2 separate regions of the Homo sapiens genome follow, and region 2 is linked to region 1. The links are contacts of gene promoters, found by promoter capture Hi-C in blood cells and fetal thymus (Javierre and others, 2016). All regions are on one chromosome and are shown on one strand. The core of a region is centred on a gene start or on the middle of the fragment in contact, and the rest is flanking DNA. Distances in the headings are between cores, read along the strand shown. Region 1 holds the start of RNF186 (ring finger protein 186). Region 2 overlaps TMCO4 (transmembrane and coiled-coil domains 4).

What was found. The method cuts DNA at HindIII sites, captures the fragments that hold promoters and counts their contacts. A CHiCAGO score of 5 or more calls a contact.
Region 2: a fragment that was not itself captured here is called in contact with the fragment with the promoter of RNF186 in region 1 in 1 of 17 cell types (endothelial precursors); the score reaches 5.5 in endothelial precursors.

The regions. Positions count from the first base shown.
Region 1 is chr1:19,814,033-19,820,218 of GRCh38, forward strand. It overlaps RNF186 (ring finger protein 186), which reads right to left and starts at 1,251. Exons shown (of 1, transcript NM_019062.2): 1 at 1-1,251. The coding sequence starts at 1,069. The coding sequence ends at 386. RNF186-AS1 (RNF186 antisense RNA 1) reads left to right here and starts at 377. Exons shown (of 2, transcript NR_186008.1): 1 at 377-521; 2 at 5,211-5,470. RefSeq lists an enhancer at 2,712-3,243. The HindIII fragment of the contact is 1,953 bases long and covers 1-1,428 here.
Region 2 is chr1:19,734,242-19,740,427 of GRCh38, forward strand. TMCO4 (transmembrane and coiled-coil domains 4) reads right to left here. Exons shown (of 16, transcript NM_181719.7): 12 at 5,583-5,719; 13 at 3,131-3,215. Among named protein-coding and RNA genes, the nearest start is that of TMCO4, 63 kb to the right of the region's middle. RefSeq lists an enhancer at 6,175-6,186. The HindIII fragment of the contact is 630 bases long and covers 2,458-3,087 here.

The sequences.
Region 1 (6,186 bases), core at 1-2,500:
TTGCAAAAAGAATGGAATTCCAGTTCTATTCTACAATGGCATCAATACTGCAATACTTTCATCAAGTTATATAAAGAAAAACCAAGAACATTGGAATAAGAGGAACAGGAGCTTCCCCCATCTTGTCATGTTCAAGTAGTTTGTGTCTGCTCCCCTAGCCACCAACAGTTTTAGCTATGCTATCCCAAGGGCAAGTGCAAGCCTGTCATCCAAGCGTGTAATTCTTGACCCAGGCTGGCCATCTCGGTTGTGGCTTGCAAGTCCCGCTGGCATGTGATTTCCCAAAGGAGCCAGTCTTAGTCCGTAACCCCTTACCCTGTTCATTGTGGAAGTCCGGGGGCCCAAGGGCAGAAAGGGCTGCAGGGATAGCCTCATCAGAGGGCACTCAGGCAATGGAAGAGATGTGGCTGTGTTTCTGCTCTCTGCAGAAGAGAGTCCTGGAGGAGGGCCAGCAGCTGCCCCGGGTGCTGGGGAGACAGCAGAAGAGGGTGGACATCAGCAGGGCCAGGGCGATGATGAAGGTGAGCACCCATCGTAAGACACCCGGGTAGATGAAGGGCCCGATGAGGATAATGAGCAAGGCCAGCAGGAGTAGGTGCGCGGCCAGGCGCCGGGCTGCCACGTGGTTTGCACTTACTTCATCCTGTCCATCCTCTCCCACCAAGCTGGGGTGTCCTGCTGCCAAGTCAGCAGGATCCACCAGCCCCTGAGGACAGAGCGATACCTCTGTGCATGGCTGGGCCAGCTGCCCCACCACCGCCTCATGGTCGCGCAGGCTGCAGATGAGGCCCCCGGGGACGGCGGTGACCTTGCGGCACAGCGGGCAGGTGATGGACCAGGTGTTGTCCTGCACGCACAGCAGGAGCTTCAGGCAGATGGCGCAGAAGGCATGCTGGCAGGCCAGCAGCTTGGGCAACCGGGGACAGCTGTAGGGCTCCCGGCACACCAGACACTCCAGGTCACATTCTGTGGAGCCAGAATGACCCCCAGCAGGGGCCACAGCGGTGGTGGTTGTGGTGGCTCCTGCGGAGATGGGCTGGGACTGTTGCAGGGTCTTGGTGCAGGCCATTCTGGGCACAGGGACCGGTGGGACACTGTCGCTCAGCACCTGGGCATTGGCAGAGAGTGTCAGCTGGCGCCGCTGGGACTTGGATGGAATCTGCCCCTCCTTTTCACTCTGGCCAGGTGCCTGTTGACAACAGCTGTCTGACACTCCTCTCTCCCAGAGCTGCCCAGCTTGTTTCTTGGCTTACGTCGTCCCTTCAGTTATTATTATTTATTTTCTCAAAACCTAGGGTTAATCAGTAACTTGCGGGTCTGGAGACTTTGAATTGCCTGATAGGAGGGCAAAGTGGGCAAGGGTCTAGTGAATCAGGACTTTCCTGTTGGGGCCAGGTACCTGGTGGGTGCCCACAGAACTGTGGCTCAAGCTTTAGGAGGCAGCAGAATCCAACTCTCTCACCCCCACTTCCCAGGTCCCTGAACCTTTTATTAATTTTTTTTATTTAACTTTTTTTTTTTTTTTTGAGACGGAGTCTCGTTCTCTCAGGTTGGAGTGCAGTGGCCCGATCTTGGCTCACTGGCATCTACAAATCTGCACAATAAACAGACAGCCCTATGAGTCGGACATAGGTGGATTGGTGGACACTGCTTTCTCAGACACAAACTTTTGGATGTCAGGATGAGTGGAAAAAAGTTTGTTTGCACTTGGAGCACATTTACAGGCAGGTGGCCTTGGAAAGAGGAGGGGAGAGGTAAGAAAAGTGAGTGGAAGGAGGACAAAGCCCAACCCAACGCAGAAAAACAAAACCACATACAGCGCACAGGTGTTTGGCACCTGCTACTGTATTCATTTCCTTAGAGCCACAGCTGTTGTATTCACAGTTACGGGTGTATGAACTTCCCATCGGTGCCCTGCTGCACACTTCACATGCCTAATCACAGGTGTCCTGTTTTGTGCTAGGCATGCTGCGTATCCAGTAGTACTAAGAACAGCTGCCATTTATTTGGGCCTACTCTAAGCCAAGCCCTGTGCCCGGGGTCCCCAGCCCCCATTTCCCGGAACCCTGATACAGCCTTGTAGGGAAGGCTGGGAAACAAGGGCAGGGTGTGGTCAGGGTAGGCTGCTGGCTGCCTGCCAAGGGGCCTTCCATGGAGCAGGACCTTGTGGAATCTACCAGCGTCCAAGGTCTGGTTGAATCAATTTCATTGGTTCATTTGGACACAACTGGCCCCAGCCGGGTGGCGTAGGCTAAGAGGACTCATGTGAGACAGGCAGATATTAGTAACACAGCAGTTAGGAAAACGTGATTTCCTTACTTTGCCCTCAAGGGCAAATGGCGGGGTGGCATGTGCACTCCCTCAAACAAATGTTTCATTCAGGCCACTCTGAACTCAGAAGCCCGTGTGAAGGATCCTTTGGTGCTCATGTCACCTGCCAAGGGCCACACAGAGTCCTGTGCCTCTGATTCAGCTCTTTCCCTTACCCCAGTAGCTGGCACTGCAGGCCACCCTCTGTGTCCTGGAGTCACCAGCCCCAAAGGGGCTCCCTCCCTTGTGGGATCGGTAACTCCCACCTCCCCACTCCCCCTGGGCCCTCTATCTCTGAAATCCAATACTCTCACCATCCCATCCCATTTCTTCTCAACCTGTAGCTAGACCATCAGTTACCTCTGTGAAAGGAAAATAAATCGTGGGGCCCCAAAATCACTAAGCCACAAGGGAAAGTCAAGCTGGAAACTGCTTAGGGCCAGCCTGCCTCCCATTCTATTCAAAGTCACCTCTCTGCTCACTGAGACAAATGCATATCTGATTGCCTCCTTTGGAGATGCTAATCAGAAACTCAAAAGAATGTAACCATTCTTATCCACCTGTGACCTGGAAGCCCCTTCCCCACTTCAGGTCTTCCTGCCTTTGCTTCAAGTTGCTCCACCTTTTCAGATGGAACCAATGTTCATTTTACATATGTTGATTGATGTCTCATGTCCCTCTAAAACGTATAAAACCAAGCTGTGCTCTGTCCACCTTGGGCACATGTCATCAGGACCTCCTGAGGCTGTGTCACGGACATGTGTCCTCAACCTTGGCAAAATAAACTTTCTAAATTAACTGAGACCTGTCTCAGATACTAAGGTATAGATACACATCTATATCACGTTTTCCCCCAGATCAAGCTGAAGGTGGCCTTGGATCTAGGCATGTTTTTTCCCCCATGCCTAGCATTCTTTCCCCTTTTTTGGGTAACAGTTCTCTGTTTTCACTTTGGGCAACCACTGCTTCCCACCGTCATTCTGTGCTCACGGAGAGGGTGATGTCTGGCTCCAGCTCTCTGGAAGTGGGGCCCTGATACAATTCAGGACAGGCCAGTTAGCATGCTCTGCTCTGCTAGCTGCAGCCATTGGTTTGAGCGTAGGCATATAATCGAAGCCAAGCCAATGAGATTCAATTCTGAGACTTCTGTTGGAGCCCTTGAGAAGTTTCTCTTTGTGCTGGGTTTCTAAGTTAGAGGATGGAACCCTGGGGCTGCCAGGACCACAGTGTGCAGAGAACCTGCTCAAGAGTAAGGTCAGCACAAAAGAAAAATGAGAAAAGAATCAGACAAAGGCCTGATGATGTTATTTGAACACCTGAAGCAGGACACCTAGCATTGGATTTTTTCAAGGATATTAACCTATAAAATCTACCCTGATTTTTATTCTTAAGTCAGTTCAAATTGAACTTCTGTCCCTTGCAAGTGAAAGACCTCTATGTAACACAGCAATGGATGAAGAAAAGAAGCCTTTACTTGCTCTCTGACAAAGGGTCAGGCATTGATGAGACAACCAGACTTTGTACACGGACAAGAGTGACCGAATGCCTGTGTGTTACCATGCTAGAAGAGATTCTGTGTTTTCTCTGCTTGGACTTGCATTGCATAATGTTATTTTCTGTTTGTGAGACCCTAGGATGGATTAGGGATGAGAGGAGAAAAATGTGTTGAGCCACATTCATTTATAATAAGAATAGAAAATCAGGTGGGCCACACAGTGATGTTGGCTTGGCCAGTGTCCCTCTCACTTTTTTTTGAGATAGAGTCTCGCTCTGTCTTGCCCAGGCTGGAGTGCGACCTCTGCCTCCCGGGCTCAAGCGATTCTCTTGTCTCAGCCTCCTGAGTAGCTGGGACTACAGGCGTGTGCCACCACACCCGGCTAATATTGTATTTTTAGTGGAGATGGGCTTTCACTATGTTGGCCAGATCGGTCTCAAACTCCTGACCTCAGGTGATTCACCTGCCTCAGCCTCCCAAAATGCTAGGATTACAGGCATGAGCCGCTTCACCCAGCCGGCCAGTGCCTCTCTCTCTAGCCAGCTTAATGGGAAATCAAATTGTCAGAAGGTAGCTGAGTGAGGTTGAAATCAGACCAAGGGAAGTTATTTGGGGTTAGAGCCTAAAAAATAACCTTTTAACATCATTGGGCAACCACCGTTAAGAAAACATATTGGCTGGAACAACCCAAGTATTACAGAAATAAAGTAGAATGTGAAAGTTCATCTTACTGCAACCCCTGAGAAATGACCACTGTTAACAGAGCATTCCTTCCTGTTGTCCTCCTCCTACCATCTTGGCTTAGGAACAACTTTGTTTCTCAAAAGTGCCTTGCCTTAACTATCACCAGCACTGACTATAGCTGGAAATCTGGCTCCTGTCACTTTACCAGCTATGTGACCTTGGGCAAGAATTTTAACTTCACTGCAGTTCAGTTTTAAAATTTGATAAAATGGAGGCCGGGCACAGTGACTCAAGCCTGTAATCCCAGCACTTTGGGAAGCAGAGGTGGGTGGATCGCTTGAGCTCAGGAGTTCGAGACCGGCCTGGGCAATGAGGTGCAACCCTATCTCTACTAAAAATACAAAAAATAGCTGGGCCTGGTGGTGCATACCTGTAGCCCCAGCTACTTGGGAGGCCGAGGCAGGAGGATAGCTTGAGCCTGGGAGGTCGCAGTTGCGTGAGCCAAGATCGTGCCACTGCACTCCAGCCTGGGTGACAGAGTGACACTCTGTATTTAAAAAAAAGTAAATAAAATAAAATAAAACAAAATGGAGACGTTAACACTTGAGGAAATTATGGATTATTTAAGCCCTCCACCCCTGACTACAACCTGCTCACAGGAGGCTTAGTAATTTATGTACTTTGGGTTGTAACTGACCTAGGTGAAATTGATCTCTTCCAGGGACATGAGATAAGACACTTTGGTGACTGATTCGGCCAATGCTTCTTGAAGAGGAGTGAATATGGGCAGAGTCTGAGGTGGAGCCTGAAGCAGATCTACCCCAGGGGAATTCAAAAGTGTCTCCGGAGACTTAAAATGTTAAATTCATCTAGGTTTCACATTCTTCTCCATGTTCTATTTGTGCTTACTGCAACATTAGAATCCCGAAGCATGCACGAATCCTTCCAAATCTCCAAATAAAACATATTTGTTTGTTTTAATTGCTGTACAAATATGAACTCATTAATCTTGAGTAAAGCTTTTTTTTCTTTTTTCATTTGAAATGCAGTTTCTTCCATCTTATGGCTTCTCACAGCCCTGGGGTCATACGCACTCCATCGTGAGAAACACAGTCTCATGTTGGGGTGAAATTTCAAGCCTAGCTGCAGGCTGGGGAGCCGGAGCCAGTCCAGTTGAGGAAGATCATGTTGGAAATCACATGTGCAAGGAACCACACACCCATGTACCTTTGCAAAAACATGTCTGATCTGAATTTTAGGCCTCCCGTCAAGTCAGAAAGGAGTCAGGTGGCAGCACTGTTCTGAGATCAAACTGTCCACTCATCTTTGGCCTCTGTCCTGATCAGCTGACCCTCACCCCACACTCCAGTGAACACAGGGAGCCAGGTCCCAGCCAAACGCCGAGTTGCTCTCCACTCCTCCTTGCCTTGGGCTGAATGGAAACCATCTCAGCTCACACTCTTGTCCCAGAATTCTCGCCTCTGTGCTCCTTAGAGCATGGCAGGCTCCATCCCTATTTTCAGCCCCCCACCCCCACCCCCACCCCTCACCAAGAATCTGCGTGTCTGAGGATAGATTGCCAAGGAGACAGAAGAAAGGGATCTGGAACCAAAATAACAATAATGAGAAAATTATGACTGTATAGAGAGAAAGACAATGTAACAGAGATAGTGAATGCCTCGGGCACAAACTGCAGG
Region 2 (6,186 bases), core at 1,523-4,022, 78 kb before region 1:
AGATCATGAGTGGGGCCCTGTGAGTCATGCTGGGACATCCACACTGATCTAGAGAACAGCAGGGGCATTAGAGGCCCTTGGGGTCTGCCGAGTTGCTGCCGTGTGAGTGTGTGCAGATGCGTGTATGAATGTGTGCAGGTGTGTGTGTGAGTGTGCATATGTGCGCATGTGTGTGAACTGTAGGGTGCCCAGCACCAGTGCCCCCGGGTCCTCCTTGGCAGGATCCACTCAGTTACTCATTCACTCCACAGTTTAAAGACCTCAATCTTTCCCCAGCGTTGAACCAGTTGTTTCCAACTCCTTAGCCTGGCACAGTGCCAGGCTCCCACCCTGACCTATTAGCATTTCCCACCAACCCACCTGGGGGGCCTCTTACGTGGGCTGCAGAGACACCAGATGCCACCGTTTCTAGACACCCCTGAGAGCCCCGCCTTTGCCCATGCTGGCCGACCCTCTGGAATGCCCTGCCCTAGTCCAGCTGCCGTCTGCCAAATACAGCATAGTGGTTAGGAGTGAGGGCTCCAGGGCCAGACTCCCTGGGCCTGAATCCTGGCTCTGGCACTTAGGATTCTTGTGGCTTCACCTCTCAGCCTCAGTTTTCTCATCTGAAGCAGGGAGACTGGTGGAACCTCCCTCCTGTGGCTGCAGTGAGGGAGGAATGTGATCACACTTGCAAGTGCTTGGAACACAGCCTGGCACCCGGTGGATCTGCACTAGCTCGTGGGCACAGCAGCATGTGCCTGATTCCCTCACCCAAAGTCCAGCTCCTTCATCTTCCTGACCACTCACAGTGCACTGGGCACTGTGCTGGGCACTAGGGGGGCGGCAGGGCTCAAGGCAGACCCTGCCTACCTGGACTTCACATCTAATGTGAGGCTGGAGAGCGGACACAAAATGACAAGTTCTGACATCTACACAACACTCACCACAGTTCCCTGTGCACAGTAGGTCCTCAGGTTGGAATTCAGAGGACATTTACTGAGTGTACCCAAACTGGGGCCAGGAATTCTCACATTCGTTATGTCATCCCCCCATGATCCTTTGAGATAAGTGTACAAAGCTCATATCCTTTGAGGAAGCTGAGGCCCAGAGAGGTTAAGTGACTAGCCCAAGGTCCGACAGCCAGTCAGTGGCAAAGCTAGGAGCCAAATCCAGGTCTGCCTAATATCAAAACCCAAAATCTCAGCTATGGGCCATGAGGATCCAGGGGTGGGAGCAGCGAGCAGGAAAGATGCTGGAAGGAAGCTGCTTTGGGAACCATCCCCCAAAAGGCTGTAGTGCAGGAACTTCCCAGTGTCACACAAACCAGCCCTGTCACCAAGAAGCCACCTGCCTCCCTCTTCCCTCTTTCCAGTTTCCAGCCTCACATTCTGGGGACAGCTGAGAGTCGACCTCACTTCCGGTTACCACAGCCAAATGGTTCATGGTAATTAATTCAATTTGTTTGGCAGGGGAATTAAAGTCTTGCCTGTACTAACGATCTTAAGTTAACATAGCATTTATGCTAACTGGAGGCAGAGACATGCCCTCTGAATGAAGAATTGGTTCTATTAATAAGACTACATCTCTCTAGGTAACGAGCCTGGCAGATAGACGGTTTGCTGCCAGAGAGGGAAAGATGACAAGGAAAGAAGCAAAATGATGACAGCAGAGAGGATGGCAACTTTTCAAAGGCTTCCCTGGGAAAAGTAGATTTGGAGAGCAGGGAGGAGTCTGCATTGGCCGACAACCAGCACCGATGGCCAGATACACGAATGAGGTCAACTTGGACCTCCTGGGTGTTCCAGCTCTGACTACAACTGCATGACTAAGCCCAGGCAGGAGAGGCAAATGGTCTTGCCAACTCATAGAATCGTGAGAAATGATCAGTTATTGCTGCTTTTGGCCACCGTGTTTGGAGAGGCCGTTTTGCAGCAACAAATAACAATCATGGTGGAGGGCAAAGGAGAAGTAAAGGCACGTCGTACATGGTGGCAGGCAAGAGAACGCGTGCAGGGGAACTGCCCTTTATAAAACCATCAGCTCTCATGAGACTTATTCACTATCATGGAAACAGCATGGGGAAAACCCACCCCCCTGATTCAATTACCTCCCACCGGGTCCCTCCCATGACCCATGTGGATTGTGGGAGCCACAATTCAAGATGAGATTTGGGTGAGGACACAACCAAATCATATTAAGCTCCAATCCTTCTCTCCCATCCACCCTCCACTCCCAGGTTCAACAATTTCTCTCTGAGTTCCTCCTCTTGCCTTCAGAGTCCTGCCGCTGCTACCTTCCACTGAGAGGAGGTGAGCCCATGTTCCAGGAGCAGTGAACCACTCCAAGTGCCCCAGGCTCGGCAACTCACTCTCCCAACCAGCCCCTCCACAGGCAGCCCCTGCTGACAGATCTGTCCAAAACCAGCATTCTGCCCTGGAGACCTCACCTACCCAAGGCCAGGAGCAGCAGCCCTCAAGCTTTTCACTGCCTTGCACAGAAAGGATGACACTGGAGGCATGACACACTCCCAAAGGTGTCTGTGTGTGGTTGAATGGTGAACCCCCAGAAGATATGTCCACCCAGAACCTGTGAATGCGACCTCATCTGGTAAAAGGGTCGTTGCAGATATAATTAAGTAAATGATCTTGACATGGGATCACCCTGGATGAGAGTGGGCCCTAAATCCAATGACTCTGTCTGTCCTTATGAGAGAAGACAACAGGCAGAGACTGGAATGACATGTCTACAAGCCAAGGAATGCTAAGGACTGCTGGCAGCCACAAGAAGTTGGAAGAGACAGGAAAAATCCTCCACTAGAGCCTTCAGAGGGAAAGTGCACCTGCCAACACCTTAATTTTGAATTTCTTGTCCCCTTCATTCCCACTTGGGAAAGTGCATTAGAACACAAAAGCCAGTGTCATTATTACAGGATGGTCCATCTTGCATCTACTCTAATGTATGTATATAAAATCATTTCCCCAAGGTTGATGACGATTTTTCTTGATTTTTAAACTATTTTTAACTTTTAACTATTATTTCTAAGAACTGGGAACACATTTTGCAAGGCTCATGGCCCCTGGCCCAGAACATCTGTCCCTGGGAACAAGCTTGTGAAGGGTTTCCGTCTGTGACAATAATCCATGCTCACCTTTCTCTTGAGCCATCTCCTGCAGACAGAAGTAGATGACTCTGGCTCCCAGGCTGAAGCCAATCAAGGTGACAGGTCGTCGCCCCTGAAGGGAAAAAGGACACAGGTGTCTGGAAGGAATACTGCCAGTTCTAGCAAAACATCAGGCCTGAGGAGGGCAGCCTTTGCACATTCCTTACCACCTGATTCTCATCTAATGAATCATGCATGTGCTGTTCCGGTCCCTGAGCGCTGATGTCTTAATCAGCAGAGTCAGGACCCTCATTTATGCAGGAGTGCACCTGCTGCTGGAATTGGCTTCCTCCAAGGCCAACAGGCAGCCCCCGGCTGGGTTAATTCCCTTTCATCTCAAATCATTATCCAGCCACCGTCTCATCTTCCCCAGGAGACAGGGCTAGTCAATTACAAGAGCAACTTCCCTTGCACTGATCTGCCTTGCGGCAAATGGCTGCAGTGCTGCGGGACCCCTTCCGGAGCTGGGGAGATTAGACAGAAGGCACCCCCAGGTGTGAGGGGTAAAAAGGCAAGAGTGACAAGGGAGGGACAACAGTTCAGTTTCTAGATAGGAAGGTGGGGCACAAAATATTGGCTCTAAGTGATAAGATAAGGTAGTAAGTCAGATGGAAAGAGGAATTTTCTGACTCAAGGACTTGTAAGAAAAGGTAACTGATCATGTCAAGACTCTAAAGAAAATGAAAGTTATCTGGGGGTGTTTGGGTACAAGCTTACATGGAAGGAGAGGAGGGGAGTGGATGAGCTCTGGAGGCCCAGCCTGGTTTTACCAGTCTATTCCTTTTCCTTGGTTTTGTGCCAATACACGTATTCCACATCCCCACACCACTCCACTTACCACAGTAGAAAATCCTCTGTTAAACAGTATTCGAATCCTGCAGGAGCTTTGTGCCAACCCTGCTGGCCACTGCCCAATATCATTCTCCCCTTTGTCCTTTACTCCTGAGTTTGACTGGGCACACGGCCACCCAGCCAAAGACGAAGTTTCCCTGACTCCTCCGTAGCTTGAGGTGGCCACAGGGCTGAGACTTAGCACAGGGCAAGGAAAGGGGATCCTCCCTAAGGCATGCATTTTTGCCTTTTGACCTCCAGAGCTGTAAAATAGTACATTTGTTTTCAGCTGGTAAATTTGTGGTAATTTGTAACAGTGGCAGCAGGAAACTAACACATCATCTTGCTCCAGATATTGACACCCAGACTCTTACTTGGGAGAGAACAAAATTCTATCTTGTCTAAGCCAATGCCACTTTGGCCTTTGCCTTAGAGTCAAGCCTGCCGAAGGATTTTCTGTTTCTTTTGACAAAGACGCAGGGATTGAAGGGGGTGGCCAGTTGCTCAAGCAGTTTAGCTGCATGGCAGAAACTGCTAGTTGTCATCCCTCAATATCCATCCTCCCTTTTTTCCATAGTAATTGAATTTCAGCTGGGTTCATCATCACTCAGAATAAATACTATATTTCCCAGCTTCTGTGGCAGCTAGGAATGGTCATGTGACTAGGCTCTGGCCAGTGAGACACCAACTGAAATGTTGTAAGGCTTTGCTGTTTCTTCTTCAGTTCTTCCTTTCTCCTGCTCCCTGGAGCTCGGATGATGCCATCTTTGATACAAGGTCAAGACCCCAGAGCAACAAGGTAGCAGGAACCTGGGCCTCTGCACCATGGAAGGCTATTAGACAACCTTGCTAGGCTTCTCCAGGAAAATAAATTTCTACCTTGTTTAAGCCACTGTTATTTTGGGTTTTCTCCCACTTCCAGCCAAAACAAATCCTGACAATGCAGTCATTTCTGGTACTGCTTCTCAAGCTTTTGTCTCCATTCACTCAAGTTTTATTCTGAAGGGGATGGTTTTATTCTCTTGGTAAGTACATCTTTACTAGATTCAAATTTTAAAAGTATTATGATGATGTCTCTTCCTAACCATTTTACATGGTATTTAGACCACCAAAGATGACCTCACAAAGTAGCTTTATACTTCTGGGAAGGAACACCAGGCCACCAGCATGTGGGAATTCCATTGGTGGCCAGCTGAAGCACCTGGTCTCATTCACTTTACTGGCTTCACTGCAAACTGCGTCAGAGGTTTCCACTGAAATATCACCCAAATGAGCCCAGTGATTATCCTAAACACTTGAATGAAGAGCTGATACATAGGAGCCACTTTTGCTTCTGCCAGAGTCCCCCAGACTTGTTCCTACCTGCAGATGCCCTGTTATTCAGTCCTTACCTAAATACCTGCTAGAGCTGCAGAGTCTATAATTTTTACTGTTCATCCTAGGACACATTCATTACTTGAACTGGAGAGGCAGCAAGGACTGCCCACACCCCCAAAACCATTGAGTTATCTCCAAGTAGCCTTGCCTCTAAGGCTGATATCTGTGAACAAGTCAGCACCTGACTTCCCCTCTTGCTCAATGCCACGCCCACACAGCCATTCCCAGGTACCTGCTGCCGGGAGAGCAGGATGTGGGCCAGGTGCTTGCCAACCTCTGCTGATCGATGGAGACACACCCCCCAGGGGTTGTCGATGACATTGGCGACACTGAGGAGTGAGGCTGGCCAGGTCAGGGCAGCCACAATGCCTGGGGAGGTGAGATAGTGATGAAGGGAATGGCCCCTGTCCTAGGGTCCTACTAGGGAAGTGACTGGCTAACAGATGCTCAAATAAATGCATGCAGTCTCCAACTTGGACCTGCAAGTTTGCCAATCAAACTGCTAAAGAACAAAGAAATCCGAAACTCATGAATTTCTGATATATGGACTCAATCCCTTCTGCTCAAGCCCTTGTCACGTGTGAGATGGCCCCAATTCGTCTCCACACCCTGTACCCTCCCACTTTGCTTCATAACTCTGCAGTGGGGACCCCTGCCCTGCCCATCCCCTCTAGACTCAGCCATGTGACTTGCTTTTGCCAAAGACATTAATAGATGTGAGGCTTGAAATGGATTTGTGCACCAGGGCTAGCCTCTTGCGCTTCTATCATTGACATGGGCTTGCCTGCTCATCCCAGGAGGATGAGAGACAAATGGAGCAGAGCTGAGTTGCCCCA